3 separate regions of the Homo sapiens genome follow, and regions 2 and 3 are each linked to region 1. The links are contacts of gene promoters, found by promoter capture Hi-C in blood cells and fetal thymus (Javierre and others, 2016). All regions are on one chromosome and are shown on one strand. The core of a region is centred on a gene start or on the middle of the fragment in contact, and the rest is flanking DNA. Distances in the headings are between cores, read along the strand shown. Region 1 holds the start of WDR49 (WD repeat domain 49). Region 2 overlaps WDR49 (WD repeat domain 49). Region 3 overlaps WDR49 (WD repeat domain 49).

Evidence for each region. The method cuts DNA at HindIII sites, captures the fragments that hold promoters and counts their contacts. A CHiCAGO score of 5 or more calls a contact.
Region 2: a contact is called between a fragment that was not itself captured here and the fragment with the promoter of WDR49 in region 1, in 1 of 17 cell types (monocytes). The highest score is 5.6, in monocytes.
Region 3: a fragment that was not itself captured here is called in contact with the fragment with the promoter of WDR49 in region 1 in 2 of 17 cell types (monocytes and M2 macrophages); the score reaches 6.9 in monocytes.

The regions. Positions count from the first base shown.
Region 1 is chr3:167,651,941-167,655,600 of GRCh38, forward strand. It overlaps WDR49 (WD repeat domain 49), which reads right to left and starts at 2,002. Exons shown (of 19, transcript NM_001366157.1): 1 at 1,894-2,002; 2 at 1,321-1,559. The coding sequence starts at 1,485. RefSeq lists enhancers at 1,216-1,739, 1,740-2,262. The HindIII fragment of the contact is 616 bases long and covers 1,794-2,409 here.
Region 2 is chr3:167,488,760-167,492,419 of GRCh38, forward strand. All of the region lies in intron 18 of WDR49 (WD repeat domain 49), which reads right to left. Among named protein-coding and RNA genes, the nearest start is that of SERPINI2, 17 kb to the left of the region's middle. The HindIII fragment of the contact is 565 bases long and covers 1,295-1,859 here.
Region 3 is chr3:167,507,475-167,511,134 of GRCh38, forward strand. The region is part of intron 16 of WDR49 (WD repeat domain 49); the gene reads right to left. Among named protein-coding and RNA genes, the nearest start is that of SERPINI2, 35 kb to the left of the region's middle. The HindIII fragment of the contact is 7,574 bases long and covers 1-3,660 here.

The DNA.
Region 1 (3,660 bases), core at 752-3,251:
GTTCTTAGCACCGGAACAAAACTGCCACATTTCTGTTCACTATAGAGTCAAAGCTGTCATAATCTGCTGTTATGTTTTACTGAATGTCCTCAAGCTGTCAAAATGTTTGCTATGTCTATCAAAATATGCTAAATTTACTTGGGGCACTGGGCATGAGCAGCAGCAGTGAAATCTTTCAGACAAATGAGGTTGGTTGAATAGCAAATATATGAAGGTTGAAATGAGAAAAGTGTAGGACAGAGCATGTCTTGCTACTAAATATGATAAGTTCTATTATAAAGAAATGATTGATACTATTGGGACATTAATTTATCAATACAGGTGGAACCCAACTTGTTATATTCTTTTGTGGATATCCAAAGATAAAAATGTGTGCCTATTACAGGCTAATATATTGTGAGCTTTTATTATATTTTATTAATTTCCAGGTGGTATTCCAAAATATTTTCTATTTCAAATTAGTATGGATACTCCAAGCACCCACGGACAATCTTAAGAAGGCCCTAGATCATACTTTAGTAAACATAATATAGTAGAAATGTTGGAGGCTCATGACTACCTAAATTCTACGTCATGGAAGAGCACTTCTTTCTACCCATATTTGAAACTAAAAACCACTTTGATGTATGCTGTTCATTATGCATAGCTGCAGAATTCAAAATTCATTGACTAAGAGAGAAGAAAATTATTCATTTACAGTTAAATTCCTATGGTTTATTTTTTATGCAGAGTTAAAATGAAAAATTCTAATTTTGTTTTTATTGGCATTGTTCCAGGATTTACAAAATGAGTGGGAGACTCGTCCCTCATAAGGGATCTTGGGACAACAAAGTGCCAGAATCAGCTTAGAAAAGGAGCTGTGCCACTTAGGGTGAGTGAGACAGGAGGAAATTTTTTGCAAACTGGGTATGCATATTTGCATTTGCTGAGTTCTATGTCCGTATTAAATGCAAGAACAATTATTCCTGGAGGTCACCTTAGAGATCTGGCTTTCTTCACTCACAGCCATAATTTTTTGTTTCCCCAAAATATGTTGATCTCTAAGAAAAAAATTTTTTCCAACAATAAATAGTTCTTTCTTGATAGTAATGAAATTCAGTGAAGCAATTTCAAACTAAAGAATATTATTTGGCCCAAAGAACTGAGGGGCAAAGCTACCAAGCACATTGTGTTAAATCCAGGCCTAACCAATTATTTTTAATTCTCTGCTATAACAATTAAGTGTATTTTTTTAATGCTTAAAGAAAAATATCTCTGTGTTTCATTCTAGGCTCCTTCATGAACAACTCAAACTATCTGGTCAATAAGCTTCACACTTACCTCAAAGGCCTTCTGTATTTTTACAAAGTCACCCACGCTGAGTTGGTTTTCAAGCAGGCCTGTGCCATAGTCTTCAAATGCAGTTACACCTTCTGTTCTCTCAGGACTCTTTGGCCCAAGCTGTGACCCTATGTTTAACTCAAGTACAGCTTTCTGGCAACTCATAATGGCTTCACCTTTTCTCAGTTGCCTTCAACTATTTCTATAAGGATGGATCTTCTTTTTCCTTCAACAGGTGCCTTTGAAAAGAAACTCAACTTAGCAACAGAATTCCAAAATGAAAGTACAAACCTTTCAAGGCATACGATCAGGAGGCAAAATGTTCAAGCTGAGGTAGGAAATGAAAGCCCTCAACCCTCTCACTTATTTGATTCTAGAGTTTATTTTCAAAATTTACAGTTGAATGCTTTTAAAATGGTATTTTTACCCCTTCCTTATACTCTGTTTAACCTGGCTTGATTAAAAATGTGTAAAGCTTTCCCCACATTTATAGTAACTGACACAGAAAACAACTTCCAATCCTCATTTTAAATGCATTAGAAAAGCACCTTCCCAAAAATCTCTTTAACTAACCTTGCTTCCATTAACATGTTGTAGTTTTCAATTCCACTTTCTTGTCTGGAAGAGTTAGATGACAAAGCTGCAGAGTTTCCCTACCAATGAAGTACTTGACTCTGAATGCCACCTTCCCAGCAATGTGGAGTTGTTTGTTTCATCTGTTCTGATCCTTTTGTATGTTTCCTGGCAACCAACACAAAGCCAACTAAAACTTTCCCTTTCACTTCCCCCTCTCCAACTGAAAGTTTAAATATATAATGTAAATGTTGAAATGGTTTTTTTTGAAATAAAAGGACAGTTCATTCCACTCATTTTTTATTAAACGACATCTTGTATTATTTAAAGACAACTTTTACCATTATATAGGATATATATTATGAAACTATATGATTAGTCAAAGAGAAAAGCATGAAATTCTGGAATTTTATGTTTTATACACAGAAAATGTTTTATTTTTATATAAAAGGAATCTGTTTCTTATATTCTTTTTGTCTTAGTTTCTATGTATATAAAATAGAGATGGTTCAAAAAAGCTTCCAACTTGTTGAAAATGTGATAAAAAAACACAGCATAACATAATATGATAAATCTAATGATAAAATTGCTTGCAGTGTCATTACTGGTTCAGCTAATAATAATGAAAAGGAGGAGAAAAAGAAGAAAAATTAACATTTTTTGAGTATTAACCATGTGCCAGGCACTAAAACTTTATGTTCATTGTCTTGTTTAAGCTTCACAACAATCCTACAAGGCAGATGTGATCATTATCCCCATTTTACTGATAAAGAAGCAAAAAGCCGGGCAAGGTGGCTCACGCCTGTAATCCCTGCACTTTGGGAGGCTGAGGCAGGTGGATGGCTTCAGCTCAGGAGTTCGAGAGCAGCCTGGGCAACATGACGAGACATTGTATCTAGTAAAAATACAAAAATAATCAGCCGAGCATGGTGGCGCACACCTGTGATCCCAGCTACTCGGGAGGCTGAGTTAGAAGGATCCCTTGAACCTGGGGGGCAGAGGTTGCAGTGAGCCAAGATTGTGCCACTGCACTCCAGCCTGGGCAACAGAATGAGACCCTGTCTCAAAAAAGAAAAAAAAAAAAAGCAAAGAAAATGCCAAAGGTCACACAAATAGTAACATACGGAAGAGAACAGAATGGCTCCCAAACTTCAGATACTGCATGTATTAGTCTGTTTTCACACTGCTAATGAAGACATACCTGAGACTGGGTAATTTATAAAGGAAAGAGGTTTAATTGACTCATAATTTCACATGGCTGGGGAGGCCTCAAAATCATGACAGAAAGCTAATGAGGGCAAAGTCATGACTTACATGGCAGTAGGCAAGACAGCATGTGCAGGGTAACTCCCATTTATAAAACCATCAGATCTCATGAGACTTATTCACTACCAGGAGAACAGTATGGGGAAACCGCCCCCTTGAGTCAATTATCTCCACCTGGCCACGCCCTTGTCATGTGAGGATTATTACAATTCAAGGTGAGATTTGGGTGGGGACACTGCCCAACTGTATCACTGCACTTTAGATGGATGTGCCCGTTGCACTTTATTTTCACTTCTGTAAACTAAAAAGTTGGCATTACATCTTCTCTAGGGTCTCTTCCGGCTCTAACATTCTCTGAGCTGGTGTTCACTAGAGGCATGGTACAGAACAGAGAGAAGAGCATCCTGTAGGAGTTCCTGTACCCATTATAGAAAAAAATGAAGTTTCATTCATGCTTTCATTTTTTCATCCATCTCTCATTATTCTTTCAAAAAAAACATT
Region 2 (3,660 bases), core at 327-2,826, 160 kb before region 1:
TAAACCAAATTTTTTGCCCAGGCAACATGGTCCCACATGACATGACCCCTGAGCCCCCTCTAATCTCATCTGATACCAGTCTCCTCACTCCATTCTAGCAATGGTGACCTCTTTTCTGTCCCTGGAACATGTCAATTTTGTTCCCAGTGGTTTTATACTTGTTTCCTGTGCTTGGGACATTCTGCCCCAACATCTTTGTAGAACTTTCTACCTTAGGATTTAGCTTAAATGTCAGAGAGACCTTCACTGATGTTCTTCCTAATGTCACCTTATTATATTATCTTGTTGTATTTTCTTCTTAGCTCTTATCAATATCATTCTCCAAACTTATCATCTTTAACTATTTATCTACTTATTATTACCTATCTCTCTTCCTAGACAATAAATTCAGCAGCAGTAGACTTTGTTTGCCTTTGTATACCATATATCCCTAGCACCCAGCATTGTATCTGGCTCATGGAAAAGGGACTCAAAATGTATATTTGTTGAATATATGAGCACATGAATGAAGGAACTTTCAGGCATGCAAAGGGGTTGGCTCACTCCTCACCCTTTGGAATCCCTGCATTCCAGAGACCTGGGGACCCTATAATATTCATAAAAGGGTGATTCTCCATGTCACATATATACATATACATCCATTTAACCACAACCAAGTTCTTAAAAATTAACATCTAGTGTTATCAGTAACCACTTACATTCACTATTCCCTACCTGGGAAAATATGACATTTATACACTCATCACTTCACTTTATAGTTGGCTGCCTGACAAGGTTTATTATAATGATAGCCAAAAGCTGTTTTCACAGTGATGAAAAGGAAAGATGTGGTGGTCAGGAAAGTATCCAAAACATTTTTTCTATAATAAAATGATTCAAGGATCTTAACATAGAAGAATTGGTTTATATATTGTCTTCTGGTCTTTCCCTTGCCTGCTAATTGGCAACTAACTATATCAGCTGAACAACAGTGGCAAAACTCACAAAGATACCCTGGCAACAAAGGACTTGGCAGCTATGTAATGTACTATGCAATGACTACCTGTCTATGAGTGTACAGCATTCTGAAAACTCCTTTCTAATTCACATTCTTCCTCCTATTCTGTGTCCTATTTTGCGTCTTCTAGACAAATTCTTATTTATCAAACTTATATGTGCATAAGAATCACCTGGAGTTCTCATTAAAATACAAATTCCCATGCAACAGATCTGGGGTGGGTCCTGAGATGCTGCATTTCTAAGGAGCTCCCTGGTGATGCCCATGCTGCTATCCACTGCCCACATCTTGAGGTCAAGCTTCTGATTTCTAAATCTAAGCTCTAGGTGAGTATTGTCAAATGTCCTTTTATTTCAGCCACCATCCAGTAACAAACAGGCAACAAAGCAACGGGTTGGTGAGAAAGAGTGGTGATGATTAATCAAAATACTTTAATAGTTTTCATATGACTCTCAAATAATGGTTGCTTGGGACCTGTTGAACCTTTTAAATATGTTGTTCACATATTAATGACTTCTGTTTTATAGACCCAAAATTTTGGTCTGTGTGTGTTGTATTTGTGAATTTTGAGATAATTTAGTGTTATGTAAATAAAAATGTAGAGCAATAGGAAGGATTTCTACTTTTTAAAATGCCCCTGAGTTTTCTGTTCATTCTGGATGTTTAGTATCCAAAAGGTCCTGAGGTGAGCCATGTGTAGCAATCTCTCATTTATCATATAGTCAATGCATGTATCTACAAATGCTTTCTTCCTACATTTTAATTATTTGTTCAAGTAAGAACTTTTATATGATATCAAAGATTATTTTTCTTTACCGGTGCTAGATTTAAAATTATACTCTAAAACAAAGATTTTAATAAAAGCTTATGTGTATATTTTTGACCTGTAGCTTAAGGGCTAATGTGAAACATTGTGTGTTTCAATAAAACACTATGTATTGTCTCCAGCACACCCTTCTGGGTTGTTAGATTCTAGTTGAGTTCACTGTTTTTGAACTATTTTTGCCCCTCTTTTCAATTGCAAGCCACTGACGGATATGCAAACTTTGTTTTATCTGCTAGAGATTTGACTTCCTCTTCTCCTTGGAAACACCACTTTCGGGATCTACTTGCAAATTGGACTGGTCTGCTACCTTGCACAAATTGTCAACTCTCCAAACTTTTCAATCTTATGTGTTTTTTTTCAACATTTAACTACAACTTTCCAAATTAACATTTTCAGTTTTTCTCCCTCCCACCTAAGGACATTACCAAGAATTAAAACCTGACATCCCAGATCCCTATACAGACTTTTGGTTGCCTTGCAGCTGTCCCTTTCTCCCAGGATCGTTGGGACTTCAAAACAGCTGACCTTTGCCACCACCTGGCAATATAAATTCAAGTGGTTTTGTAGGAGCAACATCAACAAGAACCCCTGAGAGACTATTTCTGAGACTCTGCTTTGCCCCACCCGGGAGCTTTAGAATCACTTTTAGGTTGTTCAGCAATGAGTGATATTCATTTTTCTTAAACACAAGGGGGATGAGACTGGCGATGCTGAACTTTACCTCAGTCCAGTGCTCCTGGAAAGTGAAGACATTTAAGAAATCTCTCTACATTTTCATGTTCTAGAAACAGCTAACCACAAAGGACTCCTCTCCTCTCATATATTCCAGGACCCTCTCTTTCCTTCCTCTTGAGTCCTATAAGAATCACAGATGACTTCCTCATCTACCTACCTCTACAAAAGCTCAGACCTCTTTTCTTTTCTTTGAGATGTTCCTGTTTAATGAACTTTCTCCGTATTGCAGTAGGCTGAATAAAACCATCTCTTTAATTGTTTCGTACATTTTGTCTTTCACAGAGCAACAGCTACAACAAAACAAGTCACCTGAGGTATCATTAATAGAGCATTTTCTCCACACTGTTTCAAGTTTTAAAGATTTTACAGATACAATGTGAATGGGTTCTGGGGAATTTATTGGCAAAACCTGACTCAGAGGCAGTTCTAAGTAGCTTCCAGGATTTTGAATAAGGCATATCAAAGAGGGGTTTCAAGCTGTTTAAGAACCAACTGGGAGCAACTTGAAAGCTAAAGGGAAAGTGTGAAGAAAGATGTTTCAAGTTGAAAGGGAAAGAAACAGAATACAAAAGGACATAAAAAACCCAGCAGGTATGGCTAAAACATCACCTGGGGATTTTAAAGTGTTTGAAAACTGTCCCAAGTTCCAAAGTGAGAGTTTAGGACATTGAAAGTGAGACTAGCAAAATGCCTCTCATTGTACAACTGCCAAAAACCTATGCACGAGGTAATTACGGAGATTGCAGCAAAGTGGAAAAAATGCAGTGCAAAGACGTAAGGTAGCCTCTGCAATGATAGTGTGCAGGAGAAATATATTGGTAATTGAAGTTTTTTTTTTTTTTAAGTGTTATTTTATAATAACAATTTTTAAATTCATCAGTATCCTTCTGAAAAGGAGAGGAACAATTTTAAATGAAAATAATAAAAATAGGTAATACAGTAAAATGACTGGTTTTAGAAATAAGAGCAAGAATAAGCTACCAGGGAATTTGATTTGAATACTATTTGAACAGGGGAGGCTGAATTTTGAAATATTAATAGCATAAACACCTGAGTCAGTTTTTCAGCATTCCCATCTAGGCTCTACCTTTACTATCTATGT
Region 3 (3,660 bases), core at 850-3,349, 140 kb before region 1:
TTAGGCCTTGCAGTTATTGGATTAAGAATACACCTTTTTCTAGAAAAGAATTATTCATGTAAACATGTGCAAAAGATTGAGGGGGCAGGGGCCACGGTAAAGAGGTTTCCCTTTAGAGTAGTTAACAATATATCTTGATTTTTTTTTCCAAAACACTCTAAACTCTTCCCTGTTTTCAGACCATATGCTTTCTGACTATCTCATCCTGTGGAATCTAAATCAAGTAGCTTTTATATAAAGCAAAACATTTTGCCCATTTCCACTAAAGAGTTTTATCCACAGAGGGAGAAAAGTAGTCAGACGGTAGGAGAGAATCTCTTGGAAATCACAACAAATTAAGTCAACAATCTATTGCTTCCTTTTCACAGACAGACATCTGACATTTGCAGGAGTGGTTACTCTGAAAATGCACAGGGAACTGGAAAAAGGCAAATATTCTCAAGAGGAGAAGTGATGGATGAAGACAAAGAAGCAGAATAATGTAATACCAGGCTTAAATAGAGTTTTAAAACATTTTGCAAAAATGCCTTAGTAGGTGATGCAGGAAGGCGATCTACTATGGGATCCACCAGCTTTGGCATCAATCCTATGAGGAGGAAAGGCTCTAACTAATCTCACTTCTCTTGGCTCTGGCTGTGGAAGGGAGGTATAATGACTGTGACAATTACTCAAGTACCCTCCTAGGCATCAAAAAGGAAGTGAAAAATGCTTAGAGTAGTGGCTTATACATAGCAGGTACTTGATAAAATATTTGATGGCTTGACTCAGAAACCAATAATTTGTCAATATTTTCACATGATGCTTGTTGGACAGGCAACACAGAACACTGATAAAGTACTAACTCTGGAGGCTGAATGCCTGCATTTGTATCCCTAGTTCACCTCTTGGTTGGTTGACCTTGTGCAAATCTGTTAACTTCTCCGCCTCTGTTTTTCAAGTTGTGAAATGGGGATGACAATAGTAGCTATCTTCTAGGATTACAGTGAGAATTAAATGAGGTAAACACATAAAGACCTTAGAACAGGCCCTGAAATATAATCAGGGCTCAGTTGGTATTGGCTACTATCACTTTAAGCAAAAGCAAGACAATATTTTTCACTCAAAGCAGGGAGTTCTAACACCCCCCTACAGCAAGCTCCAATATTCTTCAGAACTATCAGAATGATCAGACAAAAAATAAAAAGATGTGGCACTCCCCCAAATAACAATTTGCTGTTCTAGTATTTTTAAAGTTCAAATTTCAAAAATTGAATAGAGTATCATATGCTTTCATTTGTCATACATGGACATAGGATAGTTATTGCCAGATTGTTGGTGAAAGTAGACTGCCAATTCGTCAAGTATTTACATCACATAAAGCCTAATTTAAAATGGGATTTTAATATTTTGTGTATTTTTTCTTATAGCTATTTATCTATTTTCTAATTTAATTTCTCACATGAAATCTACTGACAGAATAATTAGGTAATCAATAGCATTTAAATAATATTAAATATCAGTTCCCTCCTAACAATAACATGGAATTTAAAACATCATAATTATTTTCCATGTTTAAGAAACATTAATTTGAGGTGTGCCCTCTGCCTTGTATAAACTTACTGGGAAACTAGTAGAATTTTTGTTTCATTTCTCATCTGAGTCTTTATACTTGTTTCTAATAATGAATCCCTTCCAGATAAGCAATTTTTTAAATGGTAACCAAAGGAAAATGTGTCAGATAATAAAAAATGGAGTAGTTTATGCTCTTTGTTGCTCTAGAATAAGAATGAAGATCAGTAAGTGAGAGTTCTACAGATGGATTTTACTTAACATTAGAGACATTAAGAATAGTTCAATAATAGAGAAGGGTATCTGTGAGATGTGAGTGTGTCATATAGGAACTATTCAAAAAGGCTGGGATGTGTTTCTCTTAAAGATGCCATAGGAGTTAGTCTAGTAGACTTTGAATACCCCTTTAAAATTTATTATTGAATTATCAAAGGTTAATAAACCTGAAAAATGTTTACTTTCACAAATAATCAAAAACTTTAGTTTAAAGCAATAAGATATCATAGCGACAGTTTTAAGACAGCAATAACAACCATTTTTGGTTCGAAGGCAGGAAAGCAACCATTTGTATTGCTGCTGGAGGGAGAGCTGATATGTCCAGACAGCAAGATGACCTTTAGCAAGATGACCCAAAGGCCTTTATGCCTTTTGACTCAGCAATTCCTCTCAAAGAATGTATTCTAATTATGAATTCAATAAGATATTCTAATATGTGCACATGAAGGTATTTAAAGAACTGTTTTCCCAGTTAAAATTTGTAAACAGTCTACATATTTGAAATAAAGAAAATGGTTAAAAAGCTACAAGTCATTATAAATGTTGTTGTCCATGGATACTCATATTAACTAATATGAAAATGTGCCTACTGCATATTTTTGAGCGATAAAACAGGTTATAAACTGTGTCTACTAAGTCACAGTTATTTTTATAAAATGTACATTTTTTCATTGTTGTAAGTATGCCTAAAGCAAGGTCTTAAAAGTGAAATGCCTAATGTTAACAATGGCTTTACCACAGATATTTTCACCTTTTGCTTATTTGTACTTCCAAATTTTCCCGTAATAAAAATGTAGTATTTTTGGCCAGGCACAGCGGCTCATGCCTATAATCCCAGCACTTTGGGAGGCCGAGGCGGGCAGATCACGAGGTCAGGAGTTCAAGACCAGCCTGGCCAACATGATGAAACCCCGTCTCTACTAAAAATACAAAAATGAGCTGGGCATGGTGGCATATGCCTGTAATCCCTGTATTAATTTTATAATAAGGAAATATTCTGAAACTGTATTTTCTGAATTATTCATTTTATCTATAATTTTCCTAGGTTAGATAATTTTACATGAGTCCAAAAAACAAATATTCCTATAAACTAGGAAAAATATATGTCCACTGTAGTTTTTTTTACTATTTTATCCCTTCACTTATTTATTTTTTTAGAAGTTTTTTAAAGCTAGTATGAGTTTTGCAGACTCTAGGAAAAGGATAAATCTATTTCTCCATATCAATTGTTAACTTAGAATTAGGCCTTTCTATTAATCTCTTAAATTCTATATTCATCTCCCCAGGACTTAACTTGAAGATAACTCTTTACCATCTACCTACTTCTCACAAATAGTATTATAAAATACTTTCAGCCCTGTGAAAAGCCAGGTATGTTTGTATAAGCCAGAAGATAATATACACCCCAATTTTTTAACCTGGAAAGAGACTCTTAGGTGTTAAAATGAGAAAATAGCTTTAAGACACTTAATTTTTTCTTCATGTTTCTTGTTTCTTCTATTTTCTTTAGACTTTTTCTATTTTCCTTCATCTTTCTTCCTGTGCACCAACCCCCATCTAAACATACCCCCACCTGCATATATACACCAAGTGTACTTTTTCTCCTGTAGTCTAAATTCTTTCACATTTTTATTTTTCTTTCATATTTTTTCATATGGATGAGAGCTAGCATGATTCTTTCCTTGAATTTACCAATCTGACTAGGTAAAGGGGCACATTCTTCGGAAGAATATTTCTTAAAAATAAAATGATTTATAATATTTTCCGTACTAGATGGAAAGCACAAAGGACATTCTACAGCTGACAATTTTATTGTGTTTGTATAATTTCTGCAAA